Regions from separate parts of the Homo sapiens genome. Here all the other regions are linked to region 1. The links are contacts of gene promoters, found by promoter capture Hi-C in human tissues and cell types (Jung and others, 2019). All regions are on one chromosome and are shown on one strand. Each heading gives the region's core, a stretch centred on a gene start or on the middle of the fragment in contact. The rest is flanking DNA. Distances are from core to core; before and after follow the strand shown.

What was found. Contacts are between HindIII fragments. The study calls those that stand out against the background at their distance.
Region 2: a contact is called between a fragment that was not itself captured here and the fragment with the promoter of SYT4 in region 1, in 2 of the 25 tissues and cell types used here (H1 embryonic stem cells and dorsolateral prefrontal cortex).
Region 3: a fragment that was not itself captured here is called in contact with the fragment with the promoter of SYT4 in region 1 in 1 of the 25 tissues and cell types used here (dorsolateral prefrontal cortex).
Region 4: a contact is called between a fragment that was not itself captured here and the fragment with the promoter of SYT4 in region 1, in 3 of the 25 tissues and cell types used here (H1 embryonic stem cells, dorsolateral prefrontal cortex and hippocampus).
Region 5: a fragment that was not itself captured here is called in contact with the fragment with the promoter of SYT4 in region 1 in 1 of the 25 tissues and cell types used here (dorsolateral prefrontal cortex).
Region 6: a fragment that was not itself captured here is called in contact with the fragment with the promoter of SYT4 in region 1 in 4 of the 25 tissues and cell types used here (H1 embryonic stem cells, bladder, dorsolateral prefrontal cortex and 1 more).

Annotation. Positions count from the first base shown.
Region 1 is chr18:43,276,177-43,278,876 of GRCh38, reverse strand. It overlaps SYT4 (synaptotagmin 4), which reads left to right and starts at 1,387. Exons shown (of 4, transcript NM_020783.4): 1 at 1,387-1,629. The coding sequence starts at 1,596. The HindIII fragment of the contact is 4,332 bases long and covers 1-2,700 here.
Region 2 is chr18:42,616,583-42,619,282 of GRCh38, reverse strand. All of the region lies in intron 7 of LINC00907 (long intergenic non-protein coding RNA 907), which reads right to left. Among named protein-coding and RNA genes, the nearest start is that of LINC00907, 430 kb to the right of the region's middle. The HindIII fragment of the contact is 8,203 bases long and covers 1-2,700 here.
Region 3 is chr18:42,316,202-42,318,901 of GRCh38, reverse strand. The region is part of intron 3 of LINC00907 (long intergenic non-protein coding RNA 907); the gene reads right to left. Among named protein-coding and RNA genes, the nearest start is that of LINC00907, 130 kb to the right of the region's middle. The HindIII fragment of the contact is 3,073 bases long and covers 1-2,700 here.
Region 4 is chr18:42,756,689-42,759,388 of GRCh38, reverse strand. The region is part of intron 4 of RIT2 (Ras like without CAAX 2); the gene reads left to right. Among named protein-coding and RNA genes, the nearest start is that of RIT2, 360 kb to the left of the region's middle. The HindIII fragment of the contact is 6,796 bases long and covers 1-2,700 here.
Region 5 is chr18:42,453,167-42,455,866 of GRCh38, reverse strand. LINC00907 (long intergenic non-protein coding RNA 907) reads right to left here. Exons shown (of 10, transcript NR_046174.2): 5 at 1,769-1,935; 6 at 878-960. Among named protein-coding and RNA genes, the nearest start is that of LINC00907, 270 kb to the right of the region's middle. The HindIII fragment of the contact is 7,748 bases long and covers 1-2,700 here.
Region 6 is chr18:42,501,266-42,503,965 of GRCh38, reverse strand. The region is part of intron 6 of LINC00907 (long intergenic non-protein coding RNA 907); the gene reads right to left. Among named protein-coding and RNA genes, the nearest start is that of LINC00907, 320 kb to the right of the region's middle. The HindIII fragment of the contact is 5,394 bases long and covers 1-2,700 here.

The sequences.
Region 1 (2,700 bases), core at 138-2,637:
TGCATGCATAATTAAGGAAATAGGTAATCTGAATAAAGTGAAATGATAAAGACACAACCACAGACTCTGCCAGCAGAAAAATTAAATACAGCAAATTAGTTTGTGTGTTTTCAAAGCATGAAGATATAAAGTTTAAAAAAATCTGTTAGAGGAACACTCCAATGCCAAGTATGTGGGAGCAAATAGAATAGCAAAGAAAAAAGACTGGTTTATAAAATTTTCCATGATGCAAAGAACTGAAGCCAATTTCTCCCCAGACAGAGCCCTGATGCTCTGGGCTGCTGCTAGCCAATGTGCAGGGACCTGTCACTTGCACAGTAGCTTTCTGAGACTCACCCTGTATCCCTTCTCCCACATCCCAGCACACACTGAATGCCATTTCCTTATTAACTCCAGAGCAAAGAAATTCTTTGCAGAGCAATAATTGACAGTTGGAGTTACAGCTTGACTTCTTTCCTTTGAAAAATTGCTAAGCATTTGTTTTAGAAAGGCACACTCTTCAGATTCCAATGAATCAGAATCCGACACCATATTTTTCACAGTTTTTCACCTCCGAGAATATCATCAGTTTAGAAAAAGGAATGCTTTCCTTTGAAATAACCAATGTTACCAATGTTACTTTAGATGTTGGCCTGATTTTGGAAACTATTTTGTACAAACGTACTAGAAGTCAGGCCTTTTAACCATAAATGTCATTTCAGAAGCGCCTTATTATTTGCAAAAGTCATAACTGAGAGTGACTCTGAATATCCAAGGAATTATCCCCATCTGTTCCTAAGTGCTTTAACTGGTCAAATGTCAGATATTAAAGGGAAGAGAGCTGAGAGACCAGGAAAGATCAACTGTTCCAGCAAAATATTTAGACTAATAATTTATTAGAACATAAAGGATTATACTGGGAAAACTATCTTATATCAAATGCATCAATTTGTAGTGAATCTTTTCTAAATGTAATAAGTATCATAGGTATAACATGTCAAAGAAAAAAATTAAAAAGCAAGAAAACATGTTTTTGCATGTTAAAAAGAGTAATTTGAAGCAGAAACTTCTCCTCTGTAAGTTACGTTATTCTGAAAACTCAGAAACATATTTTTATTCATCTAGGTGATCAGGAGATTTTATATTAGGAACTGACAGGGATCAGTTTCGGGGCTTATCTCGGTGAGCCTCTGAGCCCCCACAAAACAGCAAAGCTAATCTCTAGTGGTCCAACAGTTAAAATAATTGATGAGCATGTGTTGAATCCTCAAGAGAGGAGGGAGGAAGCAAGAAGGAAAGCTTGAAGGGAGGAGGGGAGGGGGGCAGGTGCTGATTTCAGCCCTGTAGCGTCAGGATTGCGTCAATTCGGGTTCCAGCCACGTCTGGAGTCTCGGAGACGAGCTTCTCAGAAGAGCCAAAACAGGAACCGAGGTGGCAAATCACTGTGCGAGGGCGAGTGGACCTCCCTCTTTGCCTCCTCCCTGTTCCAGGAGCTGGTGCCCTGGGCTCTGCGCTGTTGTTTTCAGCGCTCCGAAAGCCGGCGCTTGAGATCCAGGCAAGTGAATCCAGCCAGGCAGTTTTCCCTTCAGCACCTCGGACAGAACACGCAGTAAAAAATGGCTCCGATCACCACCAGCCGGGAAGAATTTGGTAAGCAAGTTACTGAACTTATGACTGCGGTTATTCCTTGAATACTCTGGGGTGGACTGTTTATTCATTTATTTTTTGCCCGGTTGTTGAATACAGATTTCCTAGGTAGTTAATTTAAAAGGAAAATGAGAATGGCAGTCAGGCAATTGTGGCTTATTTCTGCAGCTTCTCTCCCTTCCTTGGTATCTCTCTCCCTGAAACTGTCTTCTGTTAGGGAGAATTTACCTTCAGGAAGTTCTTAAATTTTCAGGTACTTCTGTAAATTGCAGCATGTACTGAGTAAAGAAAAAGGGGTCTGTTTTTCCCATGTTGGTTTCATCTATTTTGTAGGTGATTCTTATTTGTAGGTAAATCTATATTTTATTAGGAGAAGATAAATATATCTCTGGTTACATTGGGGTTTGATCTTGGTTAAAAAAAGCAACTTGTCTATTGGGGTTTGGCAATGTATATTTTATTACAGGGCGTACCATATGGGTGTTTTTCTCTGCTATGTTTTTCTTGTATCCTTGAAATATGTTGCTAGTGAAAGACAGAATCATATGGTAGCAGGGTTAAAGAGAGTTTCAAAATGAACTGGCTCAGCCCATTTCATTTCACTGCTGAGCTAACCAAAGCCCAGAGAGATGAGGGAAGTATTATAGGTTGCACAATTAGCTAAAAGCTGCTGGAAACTTGAATTAGGGCTCCAATTTTCCCGTTCAGTTTTCCTTTTCTCACACCAAGTTTTTGGTTTCAGTACATAAAATTAGACGTACTTCATAGAGTAAAAAAGTACTATTTTTAGATCTCAGTATATTCCAAAGGAAAAAGGTCAGAATTTTACTTACACGTATTTTTTAAATCATGAAATTTCATAGAAGGTTGTGAAGAGGAGTGATATCTACAGATGTGTGATAATTGTTATTAAGCTGAGTAAAATAACTATGATCTTGACTTTCAAGATTGTAAGACCTTATCAGTAGAGAATACATAGGGAGTAGATAAGTGTTTCCACGTTATAGAAAATGTTTGCCATTTGACATAACTATTCAATAGGGACAATTTGTGATATTATGTTCATAAATGAAT
Region 2 (2,700 bases), core at 123-2,622, 660 kb after region 1:
GCAATTTCTGTTTTGTTCTTATGAAAAATTCATTTTCTCTATCACTTATTCCTCTCCAACCTTCTTTCCTTCCTTGGAAGGACAATATTCAGACCTTTAAATTCTAAATTAGAAACAAATTCTTCAATGCCTTCTAGGGCCTTGAAGTATTTTCTATTAGCATTCTTGATGGTGCTAGCCCTCTAATCTTCATGGAAATGCTGTAGCGACTGTTGAAAGCTGGCACCCAAGGGTGGTGTTTAAACTGGTGATCAGTATGGCTTCTTTCCACATCATGAATATATGACCCCATGACTTCTCATTCCCCATTAATTGGCCCATCCATTCAGCAAAAGCATAGAAGGCAACACATAACCCTAAAGTGAGCAGGACATGGATGCATATGTATACACTGACAAGGGGAAAATACATAGGTAGCAGACATTATTTAGTTCTCACCCCTACTATTGTTGTGCTTACCTCTGGCCAGACTTGTAGTCTCCCACCATTAAAGGAGAGAAAAATTTTGTTATGTTCATAGCCCATGCAGAGGAAAATACTTTTATGTACCTTAAAGTTTAAACCAGTGAGCTGGGATTGTAGAAGCAGGTGTTGGAGAAGTTAGCTCGGAACAGAAGTGATCCTCCCCACAATGGAGAAGAGTAGATGGAGGTTGTTTGAAAAAGGTAAGAGCTTGAGTGACATAGGGTTTTGTGAGTGATAGACTCTGCACCCCTTATCCAAGGCCAGAACTCTGATGGGCACGTCCAAGTAGCTAAAGCTGTCGGTCAGTAAAACAAAATTTTGCCTTAGAGCAAAACCAGACTGGTAATTATGTGACTTTTTACCTGAACTCATGCTGTCATCACTGGCTAGTTCTCCCTCAAATCTCCCCTGTACCTATACCACCCTTCAAAGCCTGACTCAAGCCTCACATTTTCTCTGAGCATTCCTGATGGTGCTGGACCTCTAATCTTGATGGAAATACTATAGCGAGTGTGGAAGGCTGGGGCGTGAGGGTGGTACATAAACTGGTGGTCAGTATAGCTTCTTTCCACATCATGAATATACAATCTCATGACTTCTAATTTCCCATTCACTGGCCCATCCATTCAACAAAAGCATTAAGCATTTTATGTATATTAAGTTCTATGTTACATGCTAGGAACGTAAAAACTTTTAAGTTACAACGAACTCAAAAGAGAGGTGCTTAATTGTATTTGGAATTTCTTTTAATGGTGGGAGGCTAATTACATAAAATAATTAAGATTTGAAGCTCCAAAAAGGACCTGGGATAACTCAGTTGGTTAATTCACTAGGGAAGCAAAGTACCATTTTAGACACAGAGAGCACTGAAAACAAAAGCAAGGAGACAGGAGACAGGTTGGCACAATAGTGTCAGATGCAAGTAGCAAGGATGGCTGGAGAGAAGGAAGCATTGTGAAGGGTCAGAGTGGAAGTATGAGAAATATGATTAGAGAGAGATATGGAGGACCAGAGAGTTCCCTTTAATCAGTGTTGGACATCAGACCTTGTCCTGCAGGCAGGGAGGTGTCTGATGGTCTTGAAGTATTTTAATAATGAGAACATGAGCAATAGGGCTGGTTGGTTTCATAAAATGTACTACTATTTTATGTTACATGTGTGGAATCTGCAGTTCAGAATTATGGCAATTGGCCAACAGTAACACACTTCCTAAGTAGAAATGGCACTCTAACCCAACATTTAAGCCCTTGGTAATCCAGACTCCAAACTCAGTGCTTTCTCTTCTGAAAGATAAAACCTTTACAAAACTATACCCTTGGCATCCTGCTTTCCATATCCACAAGTGCTCACAGATGTCTCTAAAAACCGTAACAATCAAAAGGGAAACAAAATCCATATGCAGTTTTTTAAATGGCATTTAGTTTGGATGACATGGAGGCAATTATGTCTAATTTTCCACCTCCATCCGGCTCATCATATGTGCCGAGCCAGGAGCCTCTTATTTTGGCCCACCTTCATTTTATGTTTCTAAGCCCTTTCAGGGGACAGCATCTGTGCCCACAAGCCCCAGCCAAGGCCTGTGCTGGAAGCTCCACAATGCAACAGCAAAGGTCACACATGAGCTATAGGAGCCAGGAAGAAGGCTGTGGTTGGAGATTTTCCATTTGAGCCAATCCAACTGCTTTAGGTCAAACAATAAAAAATGTAATCCCCAAAAACAGGACAATAAAGGAGTAAATGATCTTCTTATTAGCTTCCATAGGAGTCAGGAGGAAGTCTGTGATTAGAGATTTCCTACCTAATTGAGTGAATCCTGCTGCTTTAGTTAAAACAATAAAATATAAAATCCTTCAAAGCAAGGCAGTAAAGAAACAAATGATCTTCTCATATATGACTAAATATTTGATGTTTTTTAAATTGCTTTTTGGTTTATTTGTTTTCCCACATCATGTTGTAGTGACAAAAAGGGCTGAAACATTTTCACTGACATGCAGATCACCCAATGCTATCCTTGACCCACCAGAAAGAAAGATATTTCCCATTTTCCCCTTTTCTCCATACTCCAGTCTATTTCCATGTCATTCTCAAAGTAACACACACTATGATGTCACCTGCCCTCTTGAAGTCAACAATTCATACTGTTATATTAGTTCCTTCTTGGCTAGTCTTATGTTTCCTACTTATGACCTGGCTATTTAAGAGAAAAGAAGTGAATGAACTCAGTGTTCCCAGAGT
Region 3 (2,700 bases), core at 183-2,682, 960 kb after region 1:
TTCATCTAAGTTGTCAAATGCATGTTTGTAGAGATGGTCATACCAATCTCTAATTATCCTTTTGATGTACTCAGGGTTTGTAGTGATATCCTCTATTTCATTCTTGATATTGATGATTTGTGTCTTCTCTGTTTTTTTTTTTTTTTTTGCCTGTCTTGCTAGAGATTTGTTGATTTATTGAGATTTTAAAAAACCAGCTCTTTGTTTTACTAATTTTCTCTACGTTTTTGTTTTTAGTTTTATTGATTCCTGTTCTTTTCTTTACTTTTTTTCCTTCTTCTTACTTTAGATTTATTTTGTTTTTCTTATTTTAGGTACTTGCAGTGGGTGCTTAAATTAATGATCTGAGCTTTTTTCCCTCTTCTCTAGTGTAAACATTTAGGGTCCAAAATATTTTTCTCAGTACTACTTTAGCTGTATCTTACAAATTTTGATAATTCATTTTTATTCTATTCAATATCCTTTTATTATTTACCTGGAGACTTCCTCCTTGACCCATGAACTATTGAGAAATAAATTATATATTTCCAAAGGGTTTGGAGATTTATCTGTTGTCTTTCTGTACTGATCTTTAGTTTGATTCCATTGTGATCAGAGAACACATTGTATGATGCTTCGAAATGTAGTAGGTATGTTTTATGGTCCAGCATGTGATCTACCTTGGTATATATTCTTTGAGCACTTGAAATAATAGTTATCTGCTTTTTGGAGGTGGAGTGTTATGTTGAGATTTTGTTGTTTGATGGTGCTGTTGAGTTTTTCGATATTTTTGCTGATTTCCTATCTAGTAGTTCTATCAGTTCTTGATAGAAGAGTGCTGAAATGCAACTACTAAAATTGTGGATGTGCCCATTTCCTCTTTTCATTTTTATTTCACATATTTTGAGGCTCTGTTTTTTGGGTTGTGGGCATTTAGGATTGCTATATCTTCTTAGTAAATTCTACTTTATTTTAATTAATGCTTGCATGATTTTTTTTTCCCTGTCTTTGTGCTTTCAACCTCCCTGCATTCTGTATCTGAAGTGAATTTTCTGTAGACAGCATGCAGTTGGATCATATTTGTTTAATGTGTATTTCTGTCTTTTCATTAATGCCCTTATATTATTTACACATAGTGTAATTATTGATATGTTAGAGTTTTAGTGTGCCTTTTTGTTTTGTGTTTTCTCTTTGTTCTCACTGAGCTTTTGTTTCCTTTTACTGTCTTCCTGTGGGTTACAAAATATTTTTCAAATTTTGTTTTGATGTATTAATAGTGCTTTGAGTGCGTTTTGGTAGATGACTTTTTTAGTGGTTGTGCTATGATTACATTATACATACATAACTTATCAGAGTCTATTGGTGTCATCATCATCCCTGTTAGAGTGAAGAACAGAAATCTTATTCCCTTTAGATCTCTTCTGCCTCATTTTCCATAATATTTCTTCTACATACATTTAGAAGCAGAGACATTGTTATAATTTTTGCTTTAACTATCAAACATCGTATAGCAAACTCAAGAGAAGAAAAATCTATTGTATTTAGTCCTTTGTTTAATTGTTTTTTTTCTTCTTAATTGATGTTCCAGAGACTTCTTCTTTTATCATTTGCTTTGGGTTTAAAGAACTTCCTTCAGTCATGTTTTGTAAGGTAGGTGTCCTGGTAAAAAAATCTCTTAGTAATCCTTTATCTGAGAATATTTTGATGTTTTGATTTTTCCATCTTCCTTGAAGGATATTTCTTACTGAGTATAAATTCTGGGTTGCAAGCCATTTTTTTCTCAGCACTTGAAAAATATTGTGCCTCTTTATTTCTGGCCACCACAATTTCTGATGATAAATGCAATGTTATCTACATTGTTTTTCCCCCATAGATAAGCTGTTGTTTATCACTTTTTTTAAAACCTTTTCTTTTAGTTTTTAGAAGGTTGATTATAAATTTTCCTGGTTGGATTTCACTGGGTATATTCTGTTTAATGTTCACTCAGCTTCTTCAATCTATACATTTATATCTTTTGCCAAATTTGAGTTTTCAGTCATTAGTTGTTTGAGTACTTTTTGTCTCTGTCCTCTTTTCGGGACTTTATTGACAGAAATGTTATATCTCTTGTTATTTTCCCACAGGTTTCTGAGGCTTTGTTCTTTTCATAAATTTAGTCTATTTACTCTTTGATGTTCAGATTATACAATTTTATTGTTCTATCTTCATATTTTCTCTTTCCCCCCTTCATTCTGGTGTAAAGTTTATCCACTAAGCTTTTTATTTTGGTTATCTTCCAGTTCTAATATTTTTATTTGGTTCTTTTTTATATCTTCCATTTCTTGTTGAGACTTCATATATCTTTTTGGAGGTTATTTTTTGTTTAGTGTTTGTTTGTAATTGCTGTTGAGGCATTTTTAGTATGACTTCTTTACTTTTTTCCCCTCAGATAATCCTTACAGCTCTGCCATCTCAGTGTTGACATTCATTGATTATCTTGTTTTATTTAGTGTGAGTTCCTCATGGGTCTTAGTAAGATGAGTGATTTTCAATTAAAGCCTTGACATTTTAGATATTATGTTATGAGGTTGTAGATCTTATTTAAATATTGTTTTATTCAACTGCCTTGTCCTGACAACACTTTGTCAGGGGAAGGGAACAAGGTAGCAGCTCCTTACTCTCATCACTGCCAGGTAGGGGCAGAAGTTCAGGTTTCCACTCAACCTCTGTTGACACCTAAAT
Region 4 (2,700 bases), core at 198-2,697, 520 kb after region 1:
TTTCATTTTTTCAGTTCATATAAGATGGAATTTGGAGTACCTGATGACCAGGAACAATTCTAGCTCAGAAATTCAAATTTTCTTCATGTAAGAAACATTGACAGAAATGGTCATTTTATGGAGGAATGTGCAGTAAGTGCGTGCCTACAGAAACTAGACAGTCATTAACAGAGATGTGGAAGAGACATAATGATTTAATGTCCTGAAAGATGACCCTTAAGCTTATTGCAATCCTGAATTCTTTTGCTTTTAGGATTGTATCACTCAGGGTTCCCCAGAGAAACAGAACCAATAGGATATACAGAGATATAGTGAAAGAGATTTATTATGAAGGACTGAGTCATGCTACTACGAAGGCTGACAAGTCCCACATCTGCAATCTGCAAGCTGGAGGCTCAGGAAAGCCATTTGTATAGCTCCAGTCCAAGCCTGAGGGCTTGGGAACTGTAGGAGTTGATGATTTAAGTCCTGGTCAGAATCAAGGACAGAATCAATGGGCACATAATTGTGAAAAGCCTGAGTAAAGAGTCAAACATCAGAATATTCAGACAGAATATTCAGAAAGGGTAATCAGGCCAGGTATGGTGGCTCATGCCTGTAATCCCAGCACTTTGGGCAGGCAGATCACTTGTGGTCAGGAGATTGAGACCAGCCTAGCCAACATGGTGAAACCCTGTCTCTACTAAAAATACAAAAAAAAAAAAAAAATTAGCCGGGTGCAGTGGCACATGCTTGTAATCCCAGCCACTTGAGAGGCTGAGGCAGGAGAATTGCCTGAACCCGGGAGGCAGAGGTAGCAGTGAGCCAAGATTGCACCATTTTACTCCAGCCTGGGTGATGAGAGAAAAACTCCTTCTCAAAATAAAAATAAAAATAAAACAAGGGTTATCAAAAAAAAAAAGGATTAGAATGTCAAGAAAGGAGGAAAGCATCAATTCAAAGGAGAGGAATTGAAGTAAGGGACTAGGCAAGTTGTCAAATATTGCAGTTGGTAAAAATTGCTGGAAACATCTATTGGATTTGACAGTAAGAATGGTACTTTTGCAAAACCATGTTAGAAGAATGAGGTGAAATGGAATACAGATTGTGAATATTAATGTGCAAATTAGAAGTGATTAAGACAAACTAGCACATAAACCTATAATGTATTTTATTTTGAAATTGTACGTCTTTTTTTTTCTAATCCTTTCCTTCCCCAGCCCTATCTTCTCTCTGTTTAACCTTATAAAAAGGGCAGATATAAGAGCGTAAATGAACTGGGCACTAAAAATAGTTGAGACTTGAATATTTTTCTGAAACCAAAGGGGCTGTTATAGAAGAAGACTAAAAATATAGGAAAAAGGTGGGACAACTAATACTGCAGGATTGAAATAGATTAAAAAAAAAAAAGGTTATTCAGCCCAGATAGAGGTATCAAACTTGACAAGAATCAGTAACCTCTCTTTGCCTGAGAGGAGAAAGAGTAAGATAAGATGTCTAATAATACAGATGAGTTTCTAGGTGCTAGTCCAGGATGTTGAAATCATTCTTTTGGGATGCTTTTATTTCCTCACTGAGGTGAAATAGGAGGGTGAGAGCATCTGCTTAAAATAAGGATGGGGTCAGAGATCTGAGACAAGAAATGAAGGATTTGAAGAACTAAACGAGAAATAGGACAGGGAACTGGCTGATAATAAGCAGAACAATTGACAAGAGCAGTGATGACTCTGCTAAGATTGAAATATAAATGTATAGTGGTACCAATAAGCACAGGCACGTACATTTTCAAAAAATGCCTGTCTCCGTGTGTGTAAGGCCAGAAAACGTAGAATATTGGTTCAGTTTTGTTTTCTGTAGATACTAGGGTTAGAACTTTTGTAAAATTTATTTTGTTCTAGTTCATCCTTCTTTTCATGGCAAGCCTTACCCAAATATAATCCAAAAAGATATATAGGTTGATTGTGAGCTTGAAGGAGCCCAAGATACCTCTGGGGAACCTTGAGCTTTCCTATAGGCTTCATCAAAGTCATCTGCTACTCTGGTCCCTAGATTCCATTCAAGAAGGCATGATGACCCGGTCTTCTTATTTTTCTGTCCAGAGATTCTGCAGGGCCATGTTCTAACCTGACAACATATGTAATCAAGCATTTTGACACTTTGCATGAATTGCACAGATATGTTAATGAAAATAAGTTAAAACCTTAAGTAATTCAAATGAGATTTCAGCTTCTAATTCTCTAGTTAATTCATGGAGGGTTTCTTCTGTAGTAATTGGTTGGTTACTCTTTGGTCAACTTCCTATCCATTTATTCAGTCTCCATTCAGTGAAGAGATAGGAAAGGTGTTTATTGAACATGGTTCACTTGCAAAGCATTGAGGTGTTGCTGACAATATAATGTCCTTTGTCTTCTTGATCTTATATTCTGCAGGAGATCCAGACATTGTAGAGTTATATAATTTATTATTTAATTATAATTGTTTTATGTGTTACAAGTATAATACATAAGTTTTTTTTCTATTTTTACCTAATATAAATTTGTTAACAGAATAGATTAAATAATAAAATTTTTTGGTCTTCAAAGAGTACATTTTTAGGCCATGTTAAAATGGAAAATTTAGCTATTCACAATAACCAATCCCCTGAAGGTTCAGAAGGACCATTGATTTAATATACATCAAACACACATATTTATTTATTAGTGCAAATATGTGAAGATATCC
Region 5 (2,700 bases), core at 187-2,686, 820 kb after region 1:
CGTAATGCTTCCACTCATATGTCCCCTACTGCAAATGCACAGTGCTATTTCTCAACCTAATGTGTTTGTTCAGATCGTTCTCAAACAGCCACCTTGCATATCTCCTTCCTAATTCTGTTTAAATGTTCAAATCCTGCCTATACTTTAAGCTATATACTTAAGACACTAAGATCTAATACTAAACTTTACCTCAAAATCTTCACTGTTTATTATAGCCCGAAATATCTCAATTTTCTTTCAAAGTCTATGGCAATTCCTATCTGTATAATTTATTTGTTCATTAATTAAGTTCTGCTTTGTAATACCTTTTCTTTTATTAACAATTAATATTATTTACTTTCGATCCTTATTTATCTGTTTACCTGGTTGTTTTTGGTCTCTCCAACTAATTGTGAATATTTTGAGAGAAAAACCATGTTTCATGTTCCTTCCATTATCTTATCCCAGCCCAATGCTAGGGACATCATAGGTGCTCAGTCACTGCTTATGATTTAAGCTCAGCTGAACATAACTCTGTCTGACTGAATACACGGAGGAATGATTTTGATGGACTTGCCTCTAATCTGGCAGTTCCCTTCTTCAACACTCATATAAAAGGAATGAGTTATTACGGTATATGCTATACTAAAATATAAAGTCTCTTCAATTCTTGCTCCAAGCCCTTTCCCAGGAATATTTGTGAAATGTACATTAGCTCTCAACTCTATTGACTCAGAAACAGAAAATCTCAGGAGGTAACACAACACAGGCAAATTAATGATTTGTGAGTGATGAATGGAATGGCACTGAAATAGATGAGAGACCCCAAGGAAAGCTGTCTAGCCAGCATGGAATAGGAGTAACAAAGAAACAAATCCATTTTAAATAAATGTCATACCTCCTATAAAATCCTGCGAAACCAAGAACAACCAACACTGCGAACTACTTGCTGATGCCAGTCTTGCTAATGGTATAATTTTCCTAAAAAAAAAATGAAAGAAAAAAGAAAATTTTATGAACTAAAGGGTAATATGTGGAATCTTTGATTTTTGACTATGGATATAATTTAGTGTAGTCACTTATTTTAAAATGAGGAAATTGAGCCTAGACTAGGAGAATCGCTTGCAGAGATGACCCTGGTATGGATACACTGCTCCCTATATCATTGCTGCCTGAGGGAGAGAGGGGCTATTTCTAGTGCAAAGTGGCAGTTGCAGGGACTGGTTTCTATTGTCAGCCTCTTTGCTGTGACCAGAACTTTCTCATGAGCACCCTCACTTCAGGTCATGAATAACTCTTAAGAGGCCTGAATCCTCTCACTCCCAATTCCTCCTTGGCCAATGGAAGGACTAAGTTGAGGAAATCAGGAGGCCGTCTCAACCTACCACCTCATACTCCCATATACTCCCAGCACCCTTGTTCATATCCTGCCTCTTCTCTCAACTCCACATTGCTTGGTTCTTCCTCTCTCTTTTTTTTTAATTTAAAATTTGTTTTTTTGAGATGGAGTCTTGCTCTGTCACCCAGGCAGGAGTGCAGTGGCGTGATCTCGGCTCACGGCAACCTCTGCCTCCCAGTTCAAGCGATTCTCCTGCCTTAGCCTCCTGAGTAGCTGGGATTACACACGCCCACCACCACACCCAGCTAATTATTATTATTATTTTTTTGTATTTTTAGTAGAGGCAGGGTTTCACCATGTTGACCAGGCTGGTCTTGAACTCCTGACCTCAAGTGATCCTCCTGCCTCAGTCTTCCAAAGTGCTGGAATTACAGGGATGAGCTACCATACCTGGCTGGTTCTTCCTCTTTCCAGGGACCCTCATCTTCATCTCTTTTCAACCACAAGCATTTCCATGAAGGCACCTGGATCTTCTCTTCCATGGTAAACCCCTTTATCTTCAACTGCTTCCTGAATTGTTTTGCCCCTTCCAGGCCTCAACAGATATCTAGAAGTGCCTGAAGGATACAAATTGTAATAAATGCATCTCAAATGAAAATTTCTTTTTCTCCTTCATTTTCCTTGCCTCTAGGTCAAAGAAATGGTTATCATTCTCATTACTCTCTCTCTAGTGATTTTTCCAGAACATTTCTATTTAGACCTCAGTAAGAAAAATAAGAAAGAAAAAGACATCTTGCAGCTCTTTCTACCTAATCATATAATTTGAATACCTCCTCATCACTAATACCTACCATGCTTCTGGTCATTCATCCTTCTTCATTGCTTCCTTTAGCTTAAAGCACACTACCCTTTGGCCCAGCTCCATTTCTGTCTTCACCCTAGGTGCCCTCAGTACCCCTTGTGTTAAGCCACTGTACAATTGGTAAATTCCTCTCTGTGTTTTTATCACCAGTGCCTCCCCAACCCTATTTCTGCCATCCACCCACTGCCCTCACCCTAAACTTCGCTACCATCCAGTGTTATTTTACTTCTGAAACATTTCGTTTAAATTCGGCTCTCACATAACTGAATTGCCCAACAATAGGAAATGGCTAAATTATTGTCATTGCATAATACAGGATATCATGCAATTATTTATACAAACGAGGTAGATAAAAATATGCTGATATGAAAGTTTTCTAAAACATATAGTTAGATGAAAAAAGTCAATTAACAACGTATCTTAATGGACTTTTATCAGAATATTACAATCCATTTTTGTGCAAATAAATCATTTACAGCTATGTGTATGTATAAATGCATAGGAATTTTCCAAAAGGATA
Region 6 (2,700 bases), core at 165-2,664, 770 kb after region 1:
CTGTGAGAGCCACAGAAGAGATGAGATAAGCTCTTCACACATTCCTGGTTGACTAGGTTTGTCCAGTTAGCAAAGTGCGTATATATCAGGCAAAGAAATAAAAAGAATGATCTACACCGCTCAGGGAAAAATCAGCCATTATAAATTTAACTGCAAGGGGACACAAATAATGAATTTAGCAGGCAAAGATTTTAAGCAATTATCATAAATTTAGTAAAAGAATTAAAGAAAACTATATTGAGTGAATTAAAGGAAAGATGTGATAACAACAACTTAAGTAACAGGAAGTTTCAATAAAGAAATAGAAGCATACAAAACCAAATGTACATTCTAAAGTCAAAATAAAATATAACCAAAAGCAAAATAACTAGGCAGTAGGTAAAGTAAAAAATAACTGCTTAATTTTAAGACAAAATAAAATGCAAGCTTGAATATGTGCAGAGAACAAACATCCTTGAAGAAAAACACAGAAGATTTTTTTTATTTTATTTATTTTTTTTATTATACTTTAAGTTTTAGGGTACATGTGCACATTGTGCAGGTTAGTTACATATGTATACATAGTGGGTGCAGCGCACCAGCATGGCACATGTAAACACAGAAGATTTTGCAGCAGCAAATAGAAATTGCAGAAATTAAAAAATACATTATTTGAAACTTAAAACATTAGTGTGCAAAACAGAAGAGAAAATTATCAAAGTGGAGCGGGGATCTGAGAAATTATCAGGAATAAAGTAAAAGGAGGCAGAATGATGGAAAATATAAAAGGACTCTAAGATACACAGAGGCTAAAGAGAAAAATATCTATGTTTATTCCAGAGAAGAAAAGAAAAAGTGGCAGAGACAATATTTTAATAAAAATGGCTGAGAATTCTCCAGAATCGAAGAAAGACATCTATATGTGTGTGTATGTGTACCTATATGTGTTTGTGTGTGTGTGTATCTATATATATCTTTAACAAATCTAATGAATACTAAACAATATAAACATAATAGAATAAAAACACAAAACTCCAATGATAAAGAGAAAAAACAGCTAGGGAGAAAGAGAGAAAGAGAAATTATCTTCCAGGAAATAACACATTGACAGCTGACATCTCATTGGCAAAACTAAAAGTTAAACACAGTGGAATAATATCTTCAATATGCCCAGAGAAAAAAGGAATGTCAACCAAAAGTTCTATGCCGAGTAAAAATATCTTATCATAGCAATATGAAGATATTTTCTGAAACATGTAAGCTGAATTTACATCAACAGATCCTGACTAAAGATAAATAAATAAATAGTAAATAGTATATAATGAGCAAAGTGATAACAGATGGACAATCAAATCTGAGATGAAAAAAATGATGGACACTAATGTGATAAATTTGTTAGTGAATTTAAACAAACATTAACTGCTTAACATAGTCATGTTTGATGATATTGGCTTATAAAATGCACAAAGTCTCATGCCTGTAATCCCAGCACTTTGGGGGGCTGAGTCGGCCAGATCACCTGAGGTCAGGAGTTTGAGACCAGCCTGGCCAAAATGGTGAAACCCCGTATCCGCTAAAAATACAAAAATTAGCTGGGTGTGCTGGTGCATGCCTGTAATCCTAGCTACTTGGGAGGCTGAGGTAGAAGAACTGCTTGAATCCAGGAGGTGGAGGTTGCAGTGAGCTGAGATTATGCCACTGCACTTCAGCCTGGGAGACAGAGTGAGATTCCATCTCAGAAAAAGAAAAAAAAAGTACAAAATCACTAGAGGATAAGTCAGGAGATGGCTAAAAGTAGTTTATATGTTTTTAAGTCCTCTATTATTTAGAAGGATGCTAATGATACTGAACAATTTTAGACTTTTCCTAAGTAAAGTATGTTTCAATTTCTAGGGTAACTACTAAATAAATCAATACAATACTTCCCAGCTGCTAGCAGCAAACATGAAAGGAAAAAATTAATCTCAACAATTCCAAAAAGCAGAAAGGAAGGAAAACGTGGCACAAAATATTTTGGCAATGGGAAGCTTGAAATAAGATGCTTGATCCAAATTCCAATATATCAAATATTATATTCCAATTAAAGTAATAAACAGTTAATTCAAAAAAATCAACCAAACTGAAAAGAATCCAACCACCTATGATTTGTAATAAGTTTAAAACTTAACGAAATAGGCCAGGCGCAGTGGCTGGGTAAACAGATAGGAATGTTTTTCCTATCACTATATACTTTTAAGCAAAAGCATTACTAGATATAGGTAGTTCATAATATTAATAACAATAAGTTAAATTCACCCATAAGTACAATAATTTTTTTATTATTATACTTTAAGTTCTGGGGTACATGTGCACAACGTGCAGGTTTGTTACATAGGTATACATGTGCCATGGTGGTTTGCTGCACCCATCAACCCGTCATCTACATTAGGTATTTCTCCCAGTGCTATCCCTCCCCTAGCCCCCCACCTGCTGACAGGCACCATTGTGTGATGTTCCCTTCCCTGTGTCCATGTGTTCTCATTATTCAACTCCCACCTATGAGTGAGAACATGAGGTGTTTGGTTTCCTGTTCTTGTGTTAGTTTGCTGAGAATGATGGCTTCCAGCTTCATCCATGCCCCTACAAAGGACATGAACTCATCCTTTTTATGGCTGCATAGTACTCCATGGTGTATAAGTGCCACATTTGCTTTATACAGTCTATCACTGTTCAGAATTTGGG